Regions from separate parts of the Homo sapiens genome. Here regions 2, 3, 4, 5, 6 and 7 are each linked to region 1. The links are contacts of gene promoters, found by promoter capture Hi-C in blood cells and fetal thymus (Javierre and others, 2016). All regions are on one chromosome and are shown on one strand. The core of a region is centred on a gene start or on the middle of the fragment in contact, and the rest is flanking DNA. Distances in the headings are between cores, read along the strand shown. Region 1 holds the start of FZD8 (frizzled class receptor 8). Region 2 has its middle 260 kb from the start of ANKRD30A. Region 3 has its middle 330 kb from the start of ANKRD30A. Region 4 has its middle 350 kb from the start of ANKRD30A. Region 5 has its middle 380 kb from the start of ANKRD30A. Region 6 has its middle 400 kb from the start of ANKRD30A. Region 7 has its middle 410 kb from the start of ANKRD30A.

Evidence for each region. The method cuts DNA at HindIII sites, captures the fragments that hold promoters and counts their contacts. A CHiCAGO score of 5 or more calls a contact.
Region 2: a fragment that was not itself captured here is called in contact with the fragment with the promoter of FZD8 in region 1 in 6 of 17 cell types (erythroblasts, M2 macrophages, total B cells and 3 more); the score reaches 8.1 in erythroblasts.
Region 3: a contact is called between a fragment that was not itself captured here and the fragment with the promoter of FZD8 in region 1, in 4 of 17 cell types (endothelial precursors, total B cells, M1 macrophages and 1 more). The highest score is 11.1, in endothelial precursors.
Region 4: a fragment that was not itself captured here is called in contact with the fragment with the promoter of FZD8 in region 1 in 8 of 17 cell types (endothelial precursors, naive B cells, total B cells and 5 more); the score reaches 22.5 in endothelial precursors.
Region 5: a contact is called between a fragment that was not itself captured here and the fragment with the promoter of FZD8 in region 1, in 4 of 17 cell types (naive B cells, total B cells, endothelial precursors and 1 more). The highest score is 7.0, in naive B cells.
Region 6: a fragment that was not itself captured here is called in contact with the fragment with the promoter of FZD8 in region 1 in 2 of 17 cell types (naive B cells and total B cells); the score reaches 12.4 in naive B cells.
Region 7: a fragment that was not itself captured here is called in contact with the fragment with the promoter of FZD8 in region 1 in 1 of 17 cell types (naive B cells); the score reaches 6.8 in naive B cells.

What each region holds. Positions count from the first base shown.
Region 1 is chr10:35,641,008-35,643,596 of GRCh38, reverse strand. It overlaps FZD8 (frizzled class receptor 8), which reads left to right and starts at 1,301. Exons shown (of 1, transcript NM_031866.3): 1 at 1,301-2,589. The coding sequence starts at 2,168. It overlaps LOC124902528 (zinc finger protein 469-like), which reads left to right and starts at 751. Exons shown (of 2, transcript XM_047426128.1): 1 at 751-967; 2 at 1,184-1,869. The coding sequence starts at 751. The coding sequence ends at 1,869. MIR4683 (microRNA 4683) reads left to right here and starts at 2,345; the gene lies at 2,345-2,425. LOC105376494 (a long non-coding RNA gene) reads right to left here and starts at 282. Exons shown (of 2, transcript XR_930820.3): 1 at 1-282. The HindIII fragment of the contact is 11,239 bases long and covers 1-2,589 here.
Region 2 is chr10:36,864,352-36,866,940 of GRCh38, reverse strand. No RefSeq gene overlaps it. Among named protein-coding and RNA genes, the nearest start is that of ANKRD30A, 260 kb to the left of the region's middle. The HindIII fragment of the contact is 6,428 bases long and covers 1-2,589 here.
Region 3 is chr10:36,793,025-36,795,613 of GRCh38, reverse strand. No RefSeq gene overlaps it. Among named protein-coding and RNA genes, the nearest start is that of ANKRD30A, 330 kb to the left of the region's middle. The HindIII fragment of the contact is 2,997 bases long and covers 1-2,589 here.
Region 4 is chr10:36,771,228-36,773,816 of GRCh38, reverse strand. No RefSeq gene overlaps it. Among named protein-coding and RNA genes, the nearest start is that of ANKRD30A, 350 kb to the left of the region's middle. The HindIII fragment of the contact is 1,772 bases long and covers 400-2,171 here.
Region 5 is chr10:36,746,506-36,749,094 of GRCh38, reverse strand. No RefSeq gene overlaps it. Among named protein-coding and RNA genes, the nearest start is that of ANKRD30A, 380 kb to the left of the region's middle. The HindIII fragment of the contact is 6,155 bases long and covers 1-2,589 here.
Region 6 is chr10:36,728,675-36,731,263 of GRCh38, reverse strand. No RefSeq gene overlaps it. Among named protein-coding and RNA genes, the nearest start is that of ANKRD30A, 400 kb to the left of the region's middle. The HindIII fragment of the contact is 8,119 bases long and covers 1-2,589 here.
Region 7 is chr10:36,711,958-36,714,546 of GRCh38, reverse strand. No RefSeq gene overlaps it. Among named protein-coding and RNA genes, the nearest start is that of ANKRD30A, 410 kb to the left of the region's middle. The HindIII fragment of the contact is 482 bases long and covers 1,069-1,550 here.

The DNA of each region.
Region 1 (2,589 bases), core at 52-2,551:
CTTGTTCCCGAGATTACAGTAATTACTGCCCCAGCATGAGTTCCATACAAGCGCTAAATGAAACAGCACATCAATTAAAAAATAAACACTCCATTCTAGGAGAAAGACAGCCCCCTGGGACGCCCTAACAAGCGTAAATGAACCTGCCAGGCCGCCGGCCCGGGCCGCCCGCAGCCCCCCTCCCGGCCCGTCTTAAGGTGGCGGCGGAGCCGGCGGGGGCAGCGTTCGCTGGCGGTGGCCCAAGCGGCTGCTAAAAGCAGCCCGGGTCCGGCTCCGGCCTCGTGCAGAGAGCAGATACGTGTCGCGGAGTCCACGCCAGAGCGCAGCGCCGCCTCCCACCAGAGAAAAGGAGGCTCTGGCAAAAGCCTGTGAACTTGGGATGGATGAATAGACGTCCTGAAAGAACGAAGGGAAGACAGGGAATCCAGCCCCAGAGTTTCCAGCCTGTCCTATTTATAAGTTTCGAGGTTTGTTTTGAATTTTAGAAAGAAATTGAATGATTTTTCCTAAGAAAGCACGGCGGCTCGGGGCTTCCTATATTTTATCTCACCTAATTATCAAAGCCCCCTTGGAGATCTGTGCTATGATCACCCAACTCTCTAGGTGGGGAAACTGAGGCTCCCCCAGGTCACGCAGCGGAGGCGGGAGGAGAGTCTCTGGCGGGCATTTGTCCCCCGCGCCCCTCGCGCGCCCAAGGCTGGGCTCCGGGGCATCTCACCCGGGCCGTCCCGGGTCCAGCCCCAGTTTAGAATGACTCCACACCCCCCACATCTCCAAGTCTCAGAAACCATCGTTCTGAGAACCCCAAGGAGGACACCCTTTCCCGGGTCTTCTGCAGCGCCGAGCCCCGGCAGGCCTCCCCGGCGCTCGCCTGCTGCGAGACCTTCCTGCCGCCCCGAGGAGCACGAGACCCCAGCCGCCTGCAGATCACCCACATTTGCGGAGGGTGGCAGCAGGGGCTTGGCTGGTTTGAAACGCGCCGGGGAGGCGCGCGCTGCACCAAACCCCGTCCCTGTCCCCAAGGGCAGACTCGGGGTAAGGGGACCAAGACCTCCGACGCACTCAGCGCCATGGGGACAGCCATGGCCAACACTCTGTCTCTGCGGTCAATCCCAAGGTTACCAAAACTCTCCATCCGCAGAGAGCGCGCACAGCAGTGCGGACACTCGGGGACTGCCTTAAGGAAGGCTGAGCCCTGGGAGCGCGTGGACTCCGCCCTACCGCCCGGCGATTGGCTCGCGGGGCTGGGGGCGGAGACCGAGTCCGCGCTGTATAAATATTCATGAGCCGGCAGCGCGGCGCGAGCGGGGCTGGAGCCGGGAAGTTGGGCTAAGGGCGCTGCTCCCGCCGAGGAGGAGGCGGCGGCTGGGCGCGGGCCGCGCCACTCAGGTGTCCGCTCCGCCTTCCGGTCTGGATTTGCTCCTGGGTGTCCAGCAGGAAGGAGACTGTGTGCACCTCGCCCGACTGCGGCCGGAGCGCGGCGCTGACTTTTCCAGGCGGCGGGGGTCCGTCTGTCCCGGCGGCGGACGGACGAAGGACGGACGCCGGAGAAAGAGGGCGGCGGCCTGGGCCGAGGCGGGTCCCCAACTCCGGCGGCGGCGGCGGCGGCTTGGCCTTGGGGGCGGGCATGAGCCCCCGGGGGCCGAGTGGTGGCCGCCAGGGCTGACCCGGCGCGGCAAGCGGCCCGGCCCAGCCATCTTGACTGCGCACCGCGGCCCCAGAGGAAACTTGCGGCGCCTCCGCCCTCTCTGTCCGGCGGAGTCACCGCCGCCCGGCGCGGCGGGGAGAAGTGGTCGGGCGCGCGGAGAGGAGGCGAGCGAGCGCGGGACGATGAGCCGAGGCCCGGCCGCTCTGCGCCGCGAGGGCTGAGCGCGACCCGGGGCCAGCAGAGCGGACCTACGGACTGTGGCGCGCGCCTGCAGCCGCCTTCAAACCCCCGGAGCGGCGGAAAGGAGTGCGGAAGGGCCCTGCCCAGGCTGCGGGCCGCGCCGCTGCGGACGCGCCCCTAGAAGGGGTTAGATTATCGGCAGACCCCCCTCCCGGGCGAAGCATAAGGGAGACCCCAGATCACCCGCTGTACCCGTCTGCGGCTCTCTCGTGGGCCCCCCCCCCGGCACCCCTCTGCGCGCCGCCTGGAGGGCGAGGGCACCGGGCCGAGGCGCACAGCATGGAGTGGGGTTACCTGTTGGAAGTGACCTCGCTGCTGGCCGCCTTGGCGCTGCTGCAGCGCTCTAGCGGCGCTGCGGCCGCCTCGGCCAAGGAGCTGGCATGCCAAGAGATCACCGTGCCGCTGTGTAAGGGCATCGGCTACAACTACACCTACATGCCCAATCAGTTCAACCACGACACGCAAGACGAGGCGGGCCTGGAGGTGCACCAGTTCTGGCCGCTGGTGGAGATCCAGTGCTCGCCCGATCTCAAGTTCTTCCTGTGCAGCATGTACACGCCCATCTGCCTAGAGGACTACAAGAAGCCGCTGCCGCCCTGCCGCTCGGTGTGCGAGCGCGCCAAGGCCGGCTGCGCGCCGCTCATGCGCCAGTACGGCTTCGCCTGGCCCGACCGCATGCGCTGCGACCGGCTGCCCGAGCA
Region 2 (2,589 bases), core at 29-2,528, 1.2 Mb before region 1:
GTCATGGCTAGATTAATTCCTAAAGAGCATACTTAAAGGGTGGAAGAGGCTCTCTCAAAAAAGGCTTTGGGACAAATACCAAAAAAGGCACTCTTTTTTGTTGCCAATAACAAAGACATGTCATCTGCCCCATCAGTACCTTGAAATAATGCAAGATAAGAACCTCCTTTCATCTAAGTCCTAAAAAATGTCATAACTTGCATGTCCTGCACAGTCTTGGTTTATAGCTGTTGAACCACTTCCTGTCCATTTAGCATGAATATTGATGTTTTCTCACTTAAAATAAACTATAATATTTAACTGCTGCCTTAAAATGCACTGGGGTGGATTTGGATACTGCCCCTTCTCACTTCTGGCTTCTGCCCCTCTTTTCCAAACAGACCTAGCATCTCAGTGTCACTGGCCTCATGTAGGGTGCCTGTGGCTGTAATGAGGTTGTGTGCTGACACCAATGCCTGGGATAGCAGAATCCTTCAACGCTTGGGTGGACGTGGGAAAGTCAGCTGCCGTCCCTGATGCTCCCATAGCTGAACATCAGCTCACCTCGGCTGTTGGTGCCATGGTCATTGCTAGGGCCTGGGAGATGCACAAGGCCAGGTGGACTGCTCAGAGGGACACCTGGGAAACTACAGGTTAAGTGCAAGAAAACAAATGCAGGCAAAGAAGACCTCGCTATAGTGACTCTGTGTAGAAAAAATCTGTAATTATTTATTTTATTGTTTGTAACATTTTTTGCAATAATCCTTGCAGTAGAAATGCAAAAAGTACATTTTGGTTTGAAAATAGACACATAACTGGATTTCCATTCTCAAGAAACCAGATGATAAATATATAACCTACATAAAATGTTTATAGCCTCATCAACTATGGGTCTATAGTGATATCACTGACCATATAAACACAGAAGACACATGTCTCCTAAAAAAGTATTATCATAAACTTGAACATTTGATAGTTATTTTAAGGAACCTATGCCTATAAACAATGTAAAACATGAAGATATGAAAAGTACATTTACCTATTACACTGCAAAAAATGTTTTACATTTATTTAGATTGACTGTTTCTCTAAATTAATTTTGTTCATTTTAGATTGTAAATTCTTTGCATATAAAAAATTAAGTGATAGCTGTAAGAGGTTGTCTGGGGTACCACAAAGAGAATTGTTCACACTGTTAAATAATGTCACTGCCATACTGGTGTCAGCAGATGCTTCAAATAAAAGAGCAGTTAATTCTAATAATAGATTACTTTTAATCCTTTTTATGGAATCAAAGTTTAGCTTTTCATCCTGTAAATGGTGAAACTCCTGACATTATTTTGGATGCCACTGTAAATTTAGTTTCCAAAAGTATCATGGTAAAAAACAGGCCAGGCGCAGTGGCTCACGCCTGTAATCCCAGCACTTTGGGAGGCCAAGGCGGGCGGATCACAAGGTCATGAGTTTGAGACCAGCCACGACAACATGGTGAAACCCCATCTCTACTAAAAAAATACAAAATTTAGCCAGGCTTGGTGGCGTGGGCCTGTAATCCCAGCTACTCAGAAGGCTGAGGCAGGAGAATCATTTGAACCTGGGAAGTGGAGGTTGCAGTGAGCCAAGATCGTGCCACTGCACTGCAGCCTGGGAGACAGAACAAGACTTCGTCTCAAAAAAAAAAACAAAAACAAAACACTTTTTTTTTTTAAATCAATCAAAAGAAACCCAGGGAGCAGAAGTGTTCATGGTATAAAACGGCTCATCATGGTGTTCAAAGAACTGGTGATATTCTAATGAAGATGGAACCTTTAATTGTCAAAGTTAAAAATATTTCTTGTATAAGCACTTGATGTACATTACTTTTTACGTGAATGTCTTATATTCTGTAAGGAAATGGAACGGACTTGAGAAGCCCTATGATTCTGAAGCATCTTAATTTAGTTTAGGAAAATTACAAAGTTGTATGAAACATACAACTTACTTGACAGATTTACTTGGAAGATATTTGAAGAAAAGTCGCTGAATGGAGGTAAAAATACAACACTTGTGAATGTATTTGCTCTTTTTGTGAACATATTTGTCATTATTACACATTTCAATACAATTGGGTATAATCTTCCTTTAGGATAATTTGCTCTGAACATACGGAACAATTCAGCCTTTATTTCGAGGGGAAAAAGGAATATTTTTTCAATTAAAAATTGATAATGTAGAAATAAGGGTATGTGGAAAGTATCTAGTTACAAATTTAGGAGCCATAAGATGTAACTTTGAAGGAGCTTACAGAAAGTTGTATTTAAAACAAATTTTAAAATATCATGCTGAGAAAAAATATATTTTTCAGAAAAATGCTTGTGATGTAAATATATATAATATCCATACATAGATTATGTATAATTCTTCTGTTATTTATTTATTTATTTATTTATTTATTTATTTATTTATTTATTTATTTTGAGACAGAGTATCGCTCTGTCGCCCAGGCTGGAGTGCAGTGGCGCAATCTCTGCTCACGGCAAGCTCTGCCTTCTGGGTTCACACCATTCTCCTGCCTCAGCCTCCTGAGTAGCCGGGACTACAGGCGCCCACCATCACTTCCGGCTAATTTTT
Region 3 (2,589 bases), core at 52-2,551, 1.2 Mb before region 1:
TGTTTCCTTTTCAACTAGATTTTCTTATGCCTTCTGCTGTATTTAGCAGAGATTTTATGTTTAGCCTTAGATGTGACTCAAGTATCAAAACAAATGCTATAAAATGGTAATAGTATATTTTGTATGTTTTATTTTTCACAGTTCTTCTACATATTCATTAGAAGATAAATTCTTTATATATTCTTTTTGAGATAAAAAAGTACATGAGTTGACACACTTGGTCTAATTATTAGGGAATCCTCAAACATGGTCATACCAGTTGGCATAAAAATCTAGTAGAAGACAGGAGATGCAGGAAAGGGTGAACTTAGAAAGAGTGAACTGATCAAATAGAGCAATGTATAGATGGAAACATAGGATTTCCACTGAGAGATGACCCTTGTCGCCCACTGGATTATCTTAGACCAACGAATCATAGATTACCTCATGAGAATGATGTCATTTCTTAAGGAAAATTAATCAATTTCAGTGAAGAAAGTATGGCTTAGAGAATTTGTCCCACTGAGCCTCATAAGTTTCATTCTTCATTTATCATTTTTCAGCATTCTTAGAGGATATTTAAATAACAGGTAGTGACATTCTCTTCACTGTGTGGTGTTTCGTGAATTAGGGCTTTACTGTGGCTCATTAGGCCTGTTATGATAATGGAATCCTCTCTTTATCTCATGTCCTGTATCTTCACACTACTGTCATTTGTGTTCTTCTCCTTCTTGCTGCAGAAACTGTGCCAACTCTTATAGCCTAGCCCTATGGCCACTTTTCAGCCCATCCCAATGAGATGTCATTATAGCACCCAGCACTTTTGGCTACCCTCTGAGTTTGGATTCTGAAATTAGGGTAGGCATCCCTAAAGTCCTCATTCAACCACATACTAACAACAGCCCTTGTGACTTGAAAACCCTTGAAAAAATGACTTAAGCTGCATAAGCCTCAGTTCTGTTGTCTGTAAAATGGATGGAATAATAATAATAGTGCCTGCCTCATGAGATTGTTTCAATATTAAACAAAATGATGCCTATATACTTCCTATCAGGCAGATAGTAACTGCTTAATCAGTTCAGTCATCATCAATGTTATACATACTTAACAGCACTCTTTAAGGTCCTTCTCCTTGCTTCCTCTTCACCTCTCTCTGCTCCATTAGTGGCTCGTGTTTATTCCCAGGTTTCACTTTTCACCATTCTGCAAATTCTTACCAGAAACCCTGCAAATTCCACCTGCTTGCTGATTACTTCCAAGTGTGTATCTCAACCCAGGTATGAAGAGACTTGTTTATTCAATTTGCACAACATGTTTATTGCTTCTTCAAATATAGAAGTTATATTTTCTTTCTTTTTGTATTTCCATGCAAAGCACTTCATGCAGGACTGGCTACTCAGAAGTGTTAACTAAATATCTATTGAGTGAGAAGGACCATCAAACTCATTGCTTTTCTATTTTCTCTCTAGCTTTTGTCTTTACTTGGGCTTATTGTTCTGGGTAAAATCTTAGGGAAGAAAACCTATTTCTGGATTAATATTTTGTTTCCTACCCAATTTAGAACTGGTAGAAGATCCTTAATAAATATCTGTTGCCAAAGAGAAAAGCACTTTTTTATCAAAAAATAAGTATTTAATAGGAAGTTGTGAAAAGAAGTGATATCCCTGGTGGCTGAGAGATGGTGGATCCCTGTACCCACCCTCTAGAAAGTACCCTTTAGATAGCAAGCTCTTAAGAGTACCAACATGTGCATCTGGTCATGCCTCAGATGTTCTTGTAAGGCTTGTGACCCCTGGGGAGGTTAGATAAGCATCTTTATGAGAGGCAGAATATGCTATAGGAATTGTTTCAAGACCTTGCCACATGTGAAGTTGCACCATGCAAGGGTGTAACATTGTTCATCATGGTGGTTTCACTTCAAATGGCATTGGTCTTGCCATGCAACAGGCTGCTTTTCTACTCTCACCCCTTGAAACTGGGCCACACAATCTCACACACGCATCTCTTCTATGATAGTCCCTGGGTCTAGAGGGAGGGTGCTTGATACTGGATAGCTTCAGCAGCAGTGCACTGGCAAAGGAGAACAGATCTGGTCCCAGCGGGATTCTAAATGAGGGAGATTCACAGGCTTGGTTGAATCATCTCTAGTCTTCTGAATACCATGATTTTGATTTTATCAGAAGATGTAAAACATTGAGAGGTACACAACGTTAATAACTTGAATAGTAGAGGCCGGGCGCAGTGGCTCACGCCTGTAATCCCAGCACTTTGGGAGGCCAAGGCAGGCAGATCACCTGAGGTTGGGAGTTTGAGACCAGCTTGACTAACATGGAGAAACCCCATCTCTACTAAAAATATAAAATTAGCCAGGCATGGTGGCACATGCCTATAATCCCAGGGAGACTGAGGCAGGAGAATTGCTTAAACCTGGGAGGCGGAGGTTGCGGTGAGCCGAGATCACACCATTGCATTCCAGCCTGGGCGACAAGAGTGAAACTCTGACTCAAAAGAAAACAAAAAAAAAAAAATTGAATAGTGCACAAGGATTACAGAATGAAAAAAAAAAGACTTATTCCATTAGAGAACATCATGAAGATTAAAACCCCTTTT
Region 4 (2,589 bases), core at 36-2,535, 1.1 Mb before region 1:
AAAGCTTAGATTTTACAAATGAATTCAGTCAAGTTTCAGGATACAAAATCTACCTACAAATTCAGTAGCATTTCTATAACCCAATAATAATCTGAGAAAGAAATCAAGAAGGTAATCCTGCTTACAATAGCTACAAAAGACAAATTAAAAAGCCCAAAGTAATCTTATTTAAACAAACAAACAAACAAAACCTACGAATAAATTTAAACAAAGAGGTGAAAAGCCTCTACAAGGAAAACCACAAAACACTGAAGAAAGAAATTGAAGATGACACACATAAATCGTTAGGTTTTTAAAGACAATGAAATACAAAAACAAGCAAAACAGAGTTCAAGAAATAACAAAGCAAGAATAAAACAAGAAATAACAAGCTAAGAAAAGTAAGACATATGTTAAGCTTAAAGTAAGATGGTAAAAAAATCATAATATATCAGTAATCAGTAATCACCAAAACTGTTAATGACTGAATTTGCCAGCTCAAATACAAACACTATCAGATTTGTTTTTAAAGATCATGTAATTACTATTTATAAAAGATATATATAAAACAAGAACAAAGAAATGTTGAATATTAAAGGATGAAAAAGACAGAGCAATTACAAATAAAATAAAACTCACGGAAGGCAGAGGCAGGTGGATCACGAGGTCAGGAGATCAAGACCATCATGGCCAACATGGTGAAACCCCGTCTCTACTAAAAATACAAAAATTAGGCCAGGTGCAGTGGCTTAAGCCTGTAATCCCAGCACTTTGGGAGGCTGAGGCAGGTGGATCACGAGGTGAGGCGGTTGAGACCAGCCTGGCCAACATAGTGAAACCCCATCTGTACTAAAAATACAAAAAATTAGCCAGGCGTGGTGGCTGGTGCCTGTAATCCCAGCTACTTGGGAAGCTGAGGGAGGAGAAACGCTTGAACCTGGAAGGTGGAGGTTGCAGTGAGCCGAGATCGTGCCATTGTATTCCAGCCTGGTGACAGAGTGAGACTCTGTCTCAAAAAAAAAAAAAAAAAAAAAAAAAAAAAAAATCTGGGTTAAAACCTCCAAATATTTTTTTTTTAAGAGACAAGCTCTTGCTCTGTCACGAAGGCTAGAATGCAAGTATGATCATCATAGCTCACTATAGCCTCAAACTCCTAAACTCAAGTGATCCCCCTGCCTCGGCCTCCTGAGTAGTTGAGAATATAGGAGTGTACCACCATGCCTGACTAATTTTTAATATTTGTTTTTGTAGAAATGGGGTCTCACTATGTTGCCCAGGCTGGTCTCACATTCCTGGAAAGTTCAGAACTTTTGAGCTCTAGTACCTGATTTCAAATTCTGGCTCTATGATGTATGAGCTTTGTATGTTGAATAAGTTACTTACATTTTTTTAACCCATTTTTTAAATTTATCTGAAAAATGTTCATAATCACAGCCTCTAACGGAAGCATGTTTATTAGGATTAATTAACATACAAAGCCCTTAGAACCATGCTTAGGGAAGGCAAACCCACACATATTTTTTAAAAGAAATAAGATTATTAGTAAAGTGAACCGATTGATGTAAAATTCTCATTTTAGAGTACTTTTCAAATTAGTTAATCATCACTAATTACAGCAATACAGAAAATCCAACAATTTTTTTTCTATTCCATTTTATCTTCTAAAAATGGCATAATGAATAGCTGAAAAGAACACATTGTATACAAAATAAGAACCTAAATAACCAAGAGTTGAATCGTAGGATATTGTCATATAAGAAAAAGGTTTATGGAGATTAAGTTGAAGCTGCCATTTTAGAGGTTGTTTATTTTGTATAGAAATATTTAAAACTATATTGCCAGCAAGAGCTCAAATTTAGAGTTTTTCATTCTTCATCTCTCTGTCTTTGTTGATGACATCATTAGATTAATTGAATGCCCAGATAAGAGAAAAGCATTAATGGTTCTTGCTATCCTAATTGTTTTCACATAGACACATGGCTACCATGACCAACATTGATTGATATCTTCTGCTAAAACAAAATAAGAATAACAACATTTTTTGGTAGAAAGAATGTGAGTAACATTGCCCTTCCTTCCTAAAAGAGCTATTTGTTGCCTGAATGAAGGGAAACAATTAAATACTGTCTTTAAAGATGACAAGTTAAATTCACAGCTAAACATCTGCTGTTAAGTCACAGTTTGCTAAAGCTTTTGAGGTAGTTTAAGGGACCCATATTTCCCTGTCATAGGGAGTTAATATGCCCATAATGACGATGCTATGTGATTCATTCCTGTTTTTTTTCTCCATCTTTTCTAAAGAGGAAGATTTTCAGCTGCTCTTTGTTAGTCTCCGAATAAAGTTTAAATAGGCCAGAAGATCCGTTTCTGAGAAAAGTTAAATCAGACTCGTATCTGTGCCCCACAGTAAGAAAAGTCATCGAGTCTTCATTCTTGGTGTCATTTCTGTGCCATCTCAATAGTGTAAATGCAAATACTTCAAATCACTTGTGAATTATCATCAACTTACAGAAGGCTCCTGAGTTTAGTAACTTTTCTCTTTATTTGGACCAAGTGTGAGAAAGAGGTCAGGGACGCTCCATTCTTACCAATGCACATAGACAAACCCCA
Region 5 (2,589 bases), core at 59-2,558, 1.1 Mb before region 1:
CACTGATTGGTCCATTTTACAGAGAGCTGACTGGTCTGTTCTGACAGGGTGCTGATTAGTGTGTTTACAATCCCTGAGCTAGACACCGAGTGCTGATTGGTGCATTTATAATCCTCTAGCTAGACATAACAGTTTTCCAAGTCTCCACTAGGTTAGCTAGACACAGAGCACTGATTGGTGCATTTACAAACTTTTAGTTAGACACAGAGTGCTGATTGGTGTGTCCACAAACCCCGAGCTAGACACAGAGTGCTCATTGGTGCATTTGCAAACCTCCAGCTAGACATAAAAGTTCTCCAAGACCCCACTCCACTCAGGAGCCCAGCTGGCTTCGCCTAGTGGATCCCATGTCGGGGCCATGGGCAGAGCTGCCCGCCAGTCCCACGCAGTGCGCCCACACTCCTCAGCCCTTGGGCAGTCAATGGGACTGGGCGCCGCAGAGCAGCAGGTGGAACCTGTCAGGGAGGCTTGGGCTGCATGGGAGCCCATGGGGGGTGGGGTGGGTGGCTTGGGCATGGCAGGCTGCAGGTCCCAAGCCCTGCCCCATGGGGAGGTGGCTGAGGCTTGGTGAGAACTCGAGCGTGGTGTGGGAGGGCCAGCAGTGCTGGGGGACCTGGCGCACCCACTGCAGCTGCTGGCCCAAGTGCTAAGCCCCTCACTGCTCAGGGCCAGTGGCGCCAGTCGGCTGCTCTGAGTGCAGGGCCTGCCGAGCCACACCCACCCAGAACTCACACTGGCCTGCAAGTGCCGTGGGCAGCCCTGGTTCCTGCTGGCACCTCTCCCTCCACACCTCCCTGCAAGCAGAGGGAGCCGGCTCCGGCCTCGGCCAGCCCAGAGAGGGGCTCCCACAGTGCAGCAGCAGACTGAAGGGCTCCTCAAGCATGGCCAGAGTGGGCACCAAGGCTGAGGAGTCACCAGGAGCGAGTGAGGGCTGCCAGCACACTGTCACCTCTCAATATGTTGTTGAATATATTTTCAAATACTTAACTTGCCATTTTTATATTTTCTTCAGTGACTTGTTCATTTATATTTTCTCATTTTTTAATTGAATTATTTGCTTTCTTATGAAATTTGAAGGTTTTCTTGTGTATTTTGAATGATAGCCTTTATTACAGATTAGTGGATAAAGAAAATGTGGCATATACATGCAATGGAATATTATTCAGCCTTAAAAAAGAAGGAACTACTACTATTTGTGACAGTATTGATGGAACAGGAGAACATAATGCTAAGTGAAATAAGCCAGACACAGAAAAACAAATATGCTTCATAATCGAACTTATCTGTGAAATCTAAAAAATTTAAACTCATTAGTTTAAATTTATGCTTATGCTTTTATCTTATGCTTTTAGTTAAAAGATTAATACATTCCGGGGACCTAATATATAGCATAGTGTCTACAGCTGATAAGAATGTATTGTATACTTGAACTTTGCTAACAGGGTAGGTCTTACGTATTCCCATACAAACACACACAGACACACACAGAGAAAGTGCAACTTTGTAAGTTGATGAAAATGTTGACAGTGGCTATTACTTCACAATGTATACATACATCACATCATATTATATACCTTAAATATGTGCAATTTTTATTTATCAATCATACTTCAATGAAGCTAGAAAGAAAAATCAGGGAAAAACATTTGTACAGCGTAAGTAATTCATTATGAAAGGGATACATTTTCTAAAAATTATGATATCTTTTTCTATGCTTATTTTAGAATATTGTATTGTCATTGTGATTATTGCCACTATTTTCCTCTCTGCACCTGTATTCCTATCTTAGTCATAGTGACCAAATCTCCTCTGATAACACTTTGTATTTTTGCCCATCTGAAATTATATCTTAAATTCTAAAAAGTAAATATTTTCTGATTTTTAGGGAAAAAGAAGTATTTTTTAGATTTCCTAGGTGATGTCTAGAAAAATCATGACAATTTTTGACTTATAAAATGAGTGATGCTAAAAGAAACTAGGCTCTGGCCAGGCATGATGGCTCATGCCTGTAATCCCAGCACTTTGGGAGGCCTAGGTGGGCAGATCACCTGAGGTCGGGAATTTGAGACCAGCCTTACCAATGTGGAGAAACCCTGTCTGCACTAAAAATACAAAATTAGCTGGTTGTGGTAGCACATGCCTGTATTCCCAGCTACTCGGGAGACTGAGGCAGGAGAATCCCTTGAACCCAGGAGGCGGAGGCTGCAGTGAGCCGAGATGGCACCATTGCACTCTAGCCTGGGCAACAAAAGCAAAACTCTGTTACAACAACAACAACAACAAAAAAAAAGAATTAAGGCTCTTTTGGTGTGCCCCATATTTCTTCATTAGCTCTACACTTTAGTAAGTTTTAAATGTACAGTTCAGAGGGCGTTACATTCACCATATTAGGCAATCTTTACCACTGTCCATTTCCAGAACTCTTTAATCATGCCATACAGAAATTATGTTCAGGCATGGTGGCTCACGCTTGTAATCCCAGCACTTTGAGAGGCTGAGGCGGGTGGATAACCAGGTCAAGAGATCAAGACCATCCTGGCCAACAAGATGAAACCCAGTCTCTACTGAAAATACTAAAACTAGCTGGAC
Region 6 (2,589 bases), core at 61-2,560, 1.1 Mb before region 1:
TTCTATTGGAAACACCAAGTCATGACACGAGAAGGGGCAAGAAGTAGTTCATCGTGAGGTGGAAATCAGAAATATGAGACAAAGGCCAAGCAAGACAACAGCAAGTGAATAAATTGAATAGCAGGTAACCCAAATCCTTGTGTCACCTACCATGTTTGCACCAGCAACCTTCCTTCAGCTCACACCTGTGTCTGCATTTGTGTCCCTGTGGCCATCCAAAGGAGGGAGAAAGAGGAAATCTCTATTTAAAAGTGTAGTTACGGCCAGGCACGGTGGCTTACGCCTGTAATCCCAGCGCTTTGGGAGGCCGAGGCGGGCAGATCACGATGTCAGGAGATGGAGACCATCCTGGCTAACACGGTGAGACCCCGTCTCTACTAAAAAAAAATACAAAAAATTAGCCAGGCGTGGTGGCAGGCGCCCATAGTCCCAGCTATGCAGGAGGCTGAGGCAGGAGAATGGCGTGAACCCAGGAGGCGGAGCTTGCAGTGAGTGGAGATGCGCCACTGCACTCCAGCCTGGGCGACAGAGCGAGACTCCGTCTCAAAAAAAAAAAAAAAAAAAAAAGTGTAGTTGCATTACAGCCCAATGCAAGAGTGACTCTGGAAGACAGAAGGAAGTGAAAATCTTCCCAATTAGCAGCACTGGGAGCAGTAGCCCCAGCCATCTACTTTACATAGAAGGAAACGTGGCCTGAGGCAGGAATATAAACAGATTTCTTTGCCCTGGTCAGTGGGTGAATCATCTGGTTAGAGGCTTAGATAGAAAAGAACTGAAATATCTGAGACAAGGAAGCCGGGTTAGAAGCATCTGAGTGGACATGCAGGAGCAGGCATGGAGGGTAAAGAATCTTGTATCACTCATTAACACTCACAAGAAAGCACTCGGGGTTGGGCGGGGTGGCTCATGCCTGTAAACCCAGGACTTTGGGAGGCTGAGGCGGGCGGATCACCTGAGGTCACGAGTTCGAGACCAGCCTGGCCAACCCATCTCTACTAAAAATACAAAAATTAGCTGGCTGTGGTGGTGGGCACCTGTAATCCCAGCTACTTGGGAGGCTGAGGCAGGAGAATTGCTTCAACCCAGGAGGCGGAGGTTGCAGTGAGCCGAGATAGCGCCACTGCACTGCAGCCTGGGAGACAGACAGAGACTCCATCTCAAAAAAAAAAAAGAAAGAAAGCACTCACCACAGAAGAGGCACTCAATAACCAATTAGACAAAATGACTTGACAAGCTGCCAGCCTTGGAGATTGGCTTTCCCACAGTAAGCACAACAGTCACACATATGGAGTCACACATATGGAGTCACACATATGACCACATTGGCAGAGATGGACGATACATATGGGCCCCATAGCCTGGACTCCTATGTATCAAGGTTGATCTAACTACTGCTGCCTCTGACTGTCCTACTTTTCAGCAAGGTAAATCAATATTGAGACTCTGACATGACAAGTCTTTTGATTTTGAATGACCACCTGTTCATCCTCAGAGGGTTTGGCACTTCTGTTCACAGAGCCTGAGCCAGGACCACTTTTCTGAGGCTTCCGGGATTCCTGATCCACAGGCATAAAATCCCACATGATATAGCATCTGACCAGGGTTCCCTGTTCACAGTTAAGGATGTGCAGAAGTGGGTCCATGACCATGTAATCTACTATTTGTATTACATACACACTTCAAGAAGCAGCTGGACTCATGGAGCCCTGTAGAAACATTCTAAAGATGAAACTGAAGCACCATGCCAAAGGAGATATTCTGAATGCAGGGGGCACCATCTTTTATACATATTCCATCACAGATCTTTATATGGTATTCTTCCTTCATAGGAAGAATCTATAGGTTCAGAAAAGAAGAGGTAGAAACAGGAATGTCCCCAATTACAAGTGTTCCCAATAATCTTCTAAGGTTCTCCCATGCTTCTCATCAGTGCAGCTCTGGGATCTGGAAGGCAGGCAAGTCTTGCTCTCTAAAGAAGGTTATCTGTTGCATGCTTTAGATTCCTTAGGTCCAGCAACCAAAAGACAAGAAATACATCACCATCCAGCAGGATGAATACACCCTGATTAGCAGGAGGAGGTAGGGCTGCTTTTCCACAAAAGAAGCAGAGATAATCTTTCTCTCTCTCTCTCTCTCACACACACACACACACACACACACACATACACACACTGATACACACACACACTCTCCCCACTCCTATACTCTCTCTTTCTCTGTTCCCCTCTCACAACTGGGCATTCAAAGGCAGTTCTGAGACCAATCGCTATAGCATGGGCTCATTAACCTTCCTTTTCTAAGATTCCCCTTGGGAAAGAGAGGCTTATGGGAATTTTGGAAGCACTGGTATGAAGAACGTGTTTGGACAAATATGTCTGTGCAGTGTTGGGATTTGGAGGTGGGGATAATGGATTTTAATGACCATGGAAATTTGCAATGCAGATATCCTGACTTGGACAGCATAAGTCAATGACAGCCTTCCTTTAGCCCTGTCTGTCTCTGGACTCACTTCTACACTTGTGCAGCAGTCATGTTTCCACAGTCATAGAGCACAGTGAGGATTGTATGTGAGGACTTTGCCAGTAAGTT
Region 7 (2,589 bases), core at 60-2,559, 1.1 Mb before region 1:
TATATTATAAATAAAGTGTTTATGTAATGTATAATCACAAATACGAATATATATAGGTATATTGCCTTTTCCTTATCCGGTCCACCTTGATGGGTGTTTAGGTTTATTCTCTATCTTTGTTATTGTGAATAGTGCAGCAATAAACATACAAGTGCTGATGTCTTTTGATATAATTTTTTCTTTTCTTTTGGGTAGATATGCAGTAGTGGGATTATTATATCAAATGATGGATCTGTGTTTAGTTCTTTGACAAATCCATACTGTTTCTGTAGAGGTTGTACTCATTTACATCCCACCAACAGCATGCCAAGTGTTCCTTCTTCTCTGCACCCTCACCAGCATCTCTTATTTTTTGACTTTTTAATGATAGCCATTCTGACTGGTGTAAGATAGTATCTCATTGTGGTTTTAATTTGAGTTTCTCTGATTATCTGTGATGCTGAGCATGTTTTCATGTGCTTGTTGGCTCCTTGCATGTCTTCTTTTGAAAAAACGTCTGTTCATTTCCCGTGCTCACTTTTCAATCTACAGATTCAGTGCAATCCCAATCAAAATACAAACATAATTTTTCAAAGACTTAGAAAAGACAACCCTAAACAAAAAGAACAAAGCTGGGGCAGCACATTACCTGGCTTCAAATTGTATTACAAAGCTGTAGTAACCCAAACAGCCTGGTACTGGTATATAAATAAGAGACATAGATCAATGGAACAGAGGGAATCCAGAAATAGAGGCACGTGCGTACAGTGAACTGATCTTTGACGAAGTAGACAAAAACATACCCTGGGAAGCAACACCCTAATCAGTACGTTACACTGGGGAAGCTGGCTAGCCACCTGCAGAAGAATGAAACTGGACCCATATCCCTCACCATATACAAAAATTAACTCAAGATGGATTGAAGGCTTAAATGTAAGACCTGAAACTGTAAAAGTCCTAGAAGAAAACCTGGGAAAAATTCTTTTGGATATTATCCTAGGCAAAATAATTCATGACTATTACTTCAAAAGCAAATGCAACGGAAGCAAAAGTAGACAAATACATGGGACTTAATTAAACTAAAAAGCTTCTGAACAGAAAAAGATGTAATCAACAGAGTAAACAGTCTACAGATTGGGACAGGATATTTGCAACCTATGCATCCAACAAAAGTCTAATATCTGGAATCTACAAAGAACTCAAACAACTCTACAAGAAACAACCCCTTTTGTCATCTTTCTAATTGAACATGTTTAATGGTGTTTTTAAAGTATATGTCTGACAACTTCAATATTTCCTTCACTTGTGTTCCTATTTATATTTTTTTGCTTTTATCTCTAATTATTTATTAAATTCTAGAAATTGCTATGAAGATCTGTAGCCCCTCTGAATAATGTTTTCTTCTTCCACAAAGTCTTCACCCCATCTTCTGGTAAGCAGCTCAGCCAGGGGAGCCGATTACCATAATCCAGTCAAAGATGGAGCTCACTCAAGCCTGGTTTCCAGTTTTATAAGGTTTCATCTTCCTCTTTCCATCCCTTCTCCTGTTACTGGTGTCCTAACTTAAAGCTTTGGGTATTACCTATGGTCTTTAAGCCCTTGCTTACTCTCAAACTCCACTTTGTTTTTTTTCCACATCAGGACTATGGACAGCTGTATACTCTGATTGTCACTGACTCACTGCTTGTCATCTTAGTTTTTTGCCCCATGGAGCTTAAAAATGCAGCAAATGCTTTAACATCAGACAGGACTGCCTTCTTTTAACTCTTCCTCTCTCCAGGATCTTGACTTCACAAATTCTGAATTCCTTGACAGTCCTGCCATGTGATTTTTATTTCTTCAAAATGGTCAGATTGATGAATCTCTGATCATTATTTTTCTCTTAGCAGTAGCCCTCTATAACAATTCTCAGCTGCTTTGCCCTATACACAAATTTGGCAAGTGTTCTCAAAAGTTTGAAAAAGAAAGAAAAGCCATATTGAATATTGAATTTATTTCTCTGCAGTTCTCCTTTCCCTCCTTTCAGATACCGGCTGCCTCAGTAGCTCTCAGATGTTTTCAAACATCTGTATGTTTAAATTTTTTCTGCTATTCCAGCTGTTCTTGGTAGTGATGCTGCTTGCTACAAATTACTTCACTGTAGCCCAAGTGGAAAACTCCCATTGAATCCTTTTAAAAACAAGATATGTTTAGAAATGCCAGATTGGTAGCAGAGTTTACATTCTCTGACTGGCTTACTGGTTTATAAATGGTCTAAAGGCCAAAATTGTTAAAAAGGCATGTATAGATAGTACCTCCTCACGCTGCTTTCTCCTATGTTGCAGGGCAGTACAGTGCTCATTGGATGATATGCTTTGAGAGTGAATGTAGATTTCCATAGGGTCCATAGTACTCTGAGCTTCACTGGGATAACCAGTTGTGTGTTTGCAGGGTCCCCCAGAAAATGAAAATGCAAGTCCCTTGTTCAAAATTTATTTAGTATTTCTAGACACTCCCAGAAAGCTGATACCAAATGCAGAGGCCTTCTCAGTATGGAGTCCTTTGCAACTGCACAGGCCACACAACCTTGTCCCTGGCCCTGGTCTGTGGACCACTAGACTCAGGAAACAT